2 separate regions of the Homo sapiens genome follow, and region 2 is linked to region 1. The links are contacts of gene promoters, found by promoter capture Hi-C in blood cells and fetal thymus (Javierre and others, 2016). All regions are on one chromosome and are shown on one strand. The core of a region is centred on a gene start or on the middle of the fragment in contact, and the rest is flanking DNA. Distances in the headings are between cores, read along the strand shown.

Region 1 (2,911 bases), core at 133-2,632:
AAATACTTGTTAATAAATAAGTTTGTTCGAGAAGCTGGGCAATGATATTCTACAGCTGGAAGAAGAAACATAATGATCTAGTAATTAGCTCATTAAAAATAAACGTTCTTCTTTCCTCAGAGGAGCATTTCCCAAGGCCTGCCTTGATAGCCATCCAAAAAGGCCAAGCTCATCCAATCTTGCCCTAGATTTATGCTAAAATGCAGTTACAATCGATAGGATGACAGAAAACGACAGCACTTATTTAAATATAATAGGCACTTATTTAAATAGGAGAAGCTGTGACTTCATAGCAAGTGTTGGGGTTAGGAAACTGGGTGGATAAACTTGCTGATGCTGTAGATCTTAGCCTCTACATGAGATCATGTGGAAAATCTGAAAGCATTTTAGGTTCCTTATGTTTGCAATCAAATAACTGTACACCTTTTAATTTAAAAAGTACCATGAGGCACACACACACACTCGCAGGAACTTTTTGGCGTAACAAAACTAGAATTAGATCTAAAGCTAACTGTAGGACTGAGTCTATTCTAAACTGAAAGCCTGGACATCTGGAGTACCAGGGGGAGATGACGTGTTACGGGCTTCCATAAAAGCAGCTGGCTTTGAATGGAAGGAGCCAAGAGGCCAGCACAGGAGCGGATTCGTCGCTTTCACGGCCATCGAGCCGAACCTCTCGCAAGTCCGTGAGCCGTTAAGGAGGCCCCCAGTCCCGACCCTTCGCCCCAAGCCCCTCGGGGTCCCCGGGCCTGGTACTCCTTGCCACACGGGAGGGGCGCGGAAGCCGGGGCGGAGGAGGAGCCAACCCCGGGCTGGGCTGAGACCCGCAGAGGAAGACGCTCTAGGGATTTGTCCCGGACTAGCGAGATGGCAAGGCTGAGGACGGGAGGCTGATTGAGAGGCGAAGGTACACCCTAATCTCAATACAACCTTTGGAGCTAAGCCAGCAATGGTAGAGGGAAGATTCTGCACGTCCCTTCCAGGCGGCCTCCCCGTCACCACCCCCCCCAACCCGCCCCGACCGGAGCTGAGAGTAATTCATACAAAAGGACTCGCCCCTGCCTTGGGGAATCCCAGGGACCGTCGTTAAACTCCCACTAACGTAGAACCCAGAGATCGCTGCGTTCCCGCCCCCTCACCCGCCCGCTCTCGTCATCACTGAGGTGGAGAAGAGCATGCGTGAGGCTCCGGTGCCCGTCAGTGGGCAGAGCGCACATCGCCCACAGTCCCCGAGAAGTTGGGGGGAGGGGTCGGCAATTGAACCGGTGCCTAGAGAAGGTGGCGCGGGGTAAACTGGGAAAGTGATGTCGTGTACTGGCTCCGCCTTTTTCCCGAGGGTGGGGGAGAACCGTATATAAGTGCAGTAGTCGCCGTGAACGTTCTTTTTCGCAACGGGTTTGCCGCCAGAACACAGGTAAGTGCCGTGTGTGGTTCCCGCGGGCCTGGCCTCTTTACGGGTTATGGCCCTTGCGTGCCTTGAATTACTTCCACGCCCCTGGCTGCAGTACGTGATTCTTGATCCCGAGCTTCGGGTTGGAAGTGGGTGGGAGAGTTCGAGGCCTTGCGCTTAAGGAGCCCCTTCGCCTCGTGCTTGAGTTGAGGCCTGGCTTGGGCGCTGGGGCCGCCGCGTGCGAATCTGGTGGCACCTTCGCGCCTGTCTCGCTGCTTTCGATAAGTCTCTAGCCATTTAAAATTTTTGATGACCTGCTGCGACGCTTTTTTTCTGGCAAGATAGTCTTGTAAATGCGGGCCAAGATCTGCACACTGGTATTTCGGTTTTTGGGGCCGCGGGCGGCGACGGGGCCCGTGCGTCCCAGCGCACATGTTCGGCGAGGCGGGGCCTGCGAGCGCGGCCACCGAGAATCGGACGGGGGTAGTCTCAAGCTGGCCGGCCTGCTCTGGTGCCTGGCCTCGCGCCGCCGTGTATCGCCCCGCCCTGGGCGGCAAGGCTGGCCCGGTCGGCACCAGTTGCGTGAGCGGAAAGATGGCCGCTTCCCGGCCCTGCTGCAGGGAGCTCAAAATGGAGGACGCGGCGCTCGGGAGAGCGGGCGGGTGAGTCACCCACACAAAGGAAAAGGGCCTTTCCGTCCTCAGCCGTCGCTTCATGTGACTCCACGGAGTACCGGGCGCCGTCCAGGCACCTCGATTAGTTCTCGAGCTTTTGGAGTACGTCGTCTTTAGGTTGGGGGGAGGGGTTTTATGCGATGGAGTTTCCCCACACTGAGTGGGTGGAGACTGAAGTTAGGCCAGCTTGGCACTTGATGTAATTCTCCTTGGAATTTGCCCTTTTTGAGTTTGGATCTTGGTTCATTCTCAAGCCTCAGACAGTGGTTCAAAGTTTTTTTCTTCCATTTCAGGTGTCGTGAAAACTACCCCTAAAAGCCAAAATGGGAAAGGAAAAGACTCATATCAACATTGTCGTCATTGGACACGTAGATTCGGGCAAGTCCACCACTACTGGCCATCTGATCTATAAATGCGGTGGCATCGACAAAAGAACCATTGAAAAATTTGAGAAGGAGGCTGCTGAGGTATGTTTAATACCAGAAAGGGAAAGATCAACTAAAATGAGTTTTACCAGCAGAATCATTAGGTGATTTCCCCAGAACTAGTGAGTGGTTTAGATCTGAATGCTAATAGTTAAGACCTTACTTATGAAATAATTTTGCTTTTGGTGACTTCTGTAATCGTATTGCTAGTGAGTAGATTTGGATGTTAATAGTTAAGATCCGACTTATAAAAGTTTGATTTTTGGTTGCTTCTGTAACCCAAAGTGACTAAAATCACTTTGGACTTGGAGTTGTAAAGTGGAAACTGCCAATTAAGGGCTGGGGACAAGGAAATTGAAGCTGGAGTTTGTGTTTTAGTAACCAAGTAACGACTCTTAATCCTTACAGATGGGAAAGGGCTC
Region 2 (2,911 bases), core at 126-2,625, 2.9 Mb after region 1:
CCAGTAAACAAACACCATTTTTTGAGTACCTCTCCTCCCTACAAAAATTCTGTTCAGCACTGTGAGGACTCAGAAAAACAGAATACAGGTTTACCACCAAAAAACAACCTTCAGGATGGATTGAAGGGTCACAGCAATGTCCAGTACAAATACTTGCGTGCCACACGTATAACTTTAAATAATGCAGTAGCCACATTTAAAAACAGAAAAAGAAACATAAAATACATTTTACTAATACATTTGATTTAACTCAATGTATCCAAAATATTTTTGAGATGTAATATAAAACATGGCATATTTTCTTTCCATTCTTGTTTTCATATTCTCTTCAAAATGCTGTATAACACAGCTCATTTCATTTTGGAGTGGCTGAATTTATTTTTTAATAAAGAAATTATCAAAAAATTGAGCCTAGGAGTTCGAGACCCTGCTGGTCCATGGGGTCTCACTATGTGGGCCAGCATGGTCTTGAACTCCTAGCCTCAAGCTATCCTCCCACCTTGGCCTCCCAAAGTGCTGGGATTACAGGTGTGAGGCACTGCGCCCAGCCTGGAGTAGATGAATTTCAAATGTTCAGCAGCCACATGTGACTAGTGGATACATTATTGAATAGTGTGGTTCTAGATGGTCAGCTTAGAGGCTATTAAAATATAAATTTGAGTTGATTGTATTTTAAGACTATAGTAGGAAGAAAGAGACTGGTCCCCAAAACATCCTGGGAAGAAAACAACATTGCATTTATTCACCAGTATTTATCAAACAACTTCTATCTAGTACACTAATAATCAGAAGCTTACAGTCTACTATGAGCTACAAATATGTAAATAGAAAAGGACTACACTGTAAAGTTTATAGCAATTATAAAGTGTTCTCGGAGCAAAAGGAACAGAACATCCAGTAGCCTGGGAAAATCTGGGAAAGTTTCACGGAGGAGGTGATGCTTAAACTTGGCTTTTAACAGATGGGGGAATTTTTCAAGTGAATGGGGGTGGAGCGGAGAGAAAGGAATTGCTTTAAAAAACACGTATGGACTTCTGAAAGTTCAGGGTTATATGCTAGACATAGTGAGGATATGAGGCCCAAGAAACCTAGAATGTGTTTGGAGAACATGAAGGTAGGAAAGGAAACAAGATGGAGAGGTAGATTGCCACCAGAGGGTTAAGAGCTTTGTAGCCAAGCAACAGAGTTTGAACCTCATGGGTTTATAGAACCAATAGAAGCTTTTACACGGAAAAATGGCTTGATAAGCTTTCTTCTCAGTAACTCTCCATACAGTGGCAGTATGGAGAACATGGTGGGGAAAAACTTATCAAGGGAACAGATTACAGGCCTGTCTCAATAATAGTCCAAAGAAGATATGATGAAGGCCTATTTTAAGCAAGTAGCGTAGGGTTTGGGAGAGACAGAATCAAATGATGGTTTAAAATTAGAAGCAGCAAGATTTGGCAGCTGACTGTATGTGGAGGGCAAGAGAAAGAAGGTGAGAATAACATCAAGCTTTCTAAGTTGGGAGAAAGGTAAATGGTAATGCCGTTAACCCAGATCAAGAATAGAAGAGGTAGGCCTCTAGGTCCAGCAGTCACAGGGCTGAGCCAGCAGCACTAATCCTCCCAGTTCTCCATGTGCTCAGCTTCCTGCTCTGCAACCATGACACAACAGGCGATCTCCTTTGCCAAGGACCATCTGGCTGGTGGCATTGCTGCTGCTGTCGCCAAGATAGTTGTGGCCCTGATTGAGCAGGTGAAGCTGCTGTAGCAGATGCAAGGCGCTAGGAAGCAGGTGACAGCTGACAGCAGTGCACAGGAATTGTGGACTACTTTCTTAAGCAAGCCCTCAACATCACATTCAAGGATAAGCAGACACAGCTATTCCTGGGAGTATGGATGAACACACACAGTTCTAGAGCTGTTTTGCCCACAATCTGGCCTCCAACAAGGCGGCCAGAGCCACCTGTCTCTGTTTTGTGTACTTGCTGGGTTTTGCCAGAACCCATCTGGTGGTCAATGTTGGGAAATCGTACACAGAGCTGGGATTCAGGTTCAAAGACCTAGGAGACTGTCTGGTGAAGATAAGTAAGTCTGATGGGATCTGGGGCCTGTACCAGGGCTTCAGCATCTCTGTGCAGGGCATCATCCTTTTCTGGGCAGCCTGAAGGCCTAAGGCATGCTCCCTGACTCCAAGACCACCACATCATGGTGAGCCAGATGATTGCCCAGACTGTGGTGGTGCGGCCAACATGACCTTCTACCCATTGGGCCCTGTGCAGACCCAAAGGAGCCAACATACTGCACATGGGAACCCTCAATTGCTGGAGGAAGATTTTTAAGGAGGAAAAGGGAAAGCCTTCTTCAAGAGTGCATGGTCTAATGTTCTCAGAGATATGGGAGGAGCTTTTAGGCCTGTCCTGTATGTGGAATTGAAGAAGAGTAAGTGTGTTTCCTCACTAGAAATGAAAACCAAGAGAATCATGTAGCATACTTAACTGTTATGGACCACTGACCTTTGAGAAATTTCATTTTCTTGGTCCTGGCCATAGTACCTCTGTAGAGGACTAGAGAAGGCTTTAGAAAAGGGGTTCACCATGATCATATTCAACCATTGGCACCCTGAATCCACGCATTGATTACTGGCGATAATTATGACATCACCATGGGTCAACAAACAAGGCAGCTCCTTCAAACAGACCTGTAGTCCAGGCACTTGTAGAACCCAAGTTGTGTTTAAATATTTATTTATTTATTTTGTATTTATTTATTTTAGTTTTTATTTTTTTGAGATGGAGTTTCACTCTTGTTGCCCAGGCTGGAGTGCAACGGCACAATCTTGGTTTACTGCAACCTCTGCCTCCCAGGTTCGAGCGATTCTCCTGCTTCAGCCTCCCTAGTAGCTGGGATTACAGGCACCTGCCTCC

Evidence for each region. The method cuts DNA at HindIII sites, captures the fragments that hold promoters and counts their contacts. A CHiCAGO score of 5 or more calls a contact.
Region 2: a fragment that was not itself captured here is called in contact with the fragment with the promoter of EEF1A1 in region 1 in 1 of 17 cell types (non-activated CD4 T cells); the score reaches 6.4 in non-activated CD4 T cells.

The regions. Positions count from the first base shown.
Region 1 is chr6:73,519,503-73,522,413 of GRCh38, reverse strand. EEF1A1 (eukaryotic translation elongation factor 1 alpha 1) reads left to right here and starts at 1,382. Exons shown (of 8, transcript NM_001402.6): 1 at 1,382-1,414; 2 at 2,358-2,531; 3 at 2,898-2,911. The coding sequence starts at 2,388. RefSeq lists a silencer at 625-854 and enhancers at 577-1,399, 1,435-1,514, 1,565-1,674, 1,400-2,221, 1,965-2,264 and 1 more. The HindIII fragment of the contact is 5,848 bases long and covers 1-2,911 here.
Region 2 is chr6:70,663,016-70,665,926 of GRCh38, reverse strand. It overlaps the pseudogene SLC25A6P6. Among named protein-coding and RNA genes, the nearest start is that of SMAP1, 3.4 kb to the left of the region's middle. The HindIII fragment of the contact is 249 bases long and covers 1,251-1,499 here.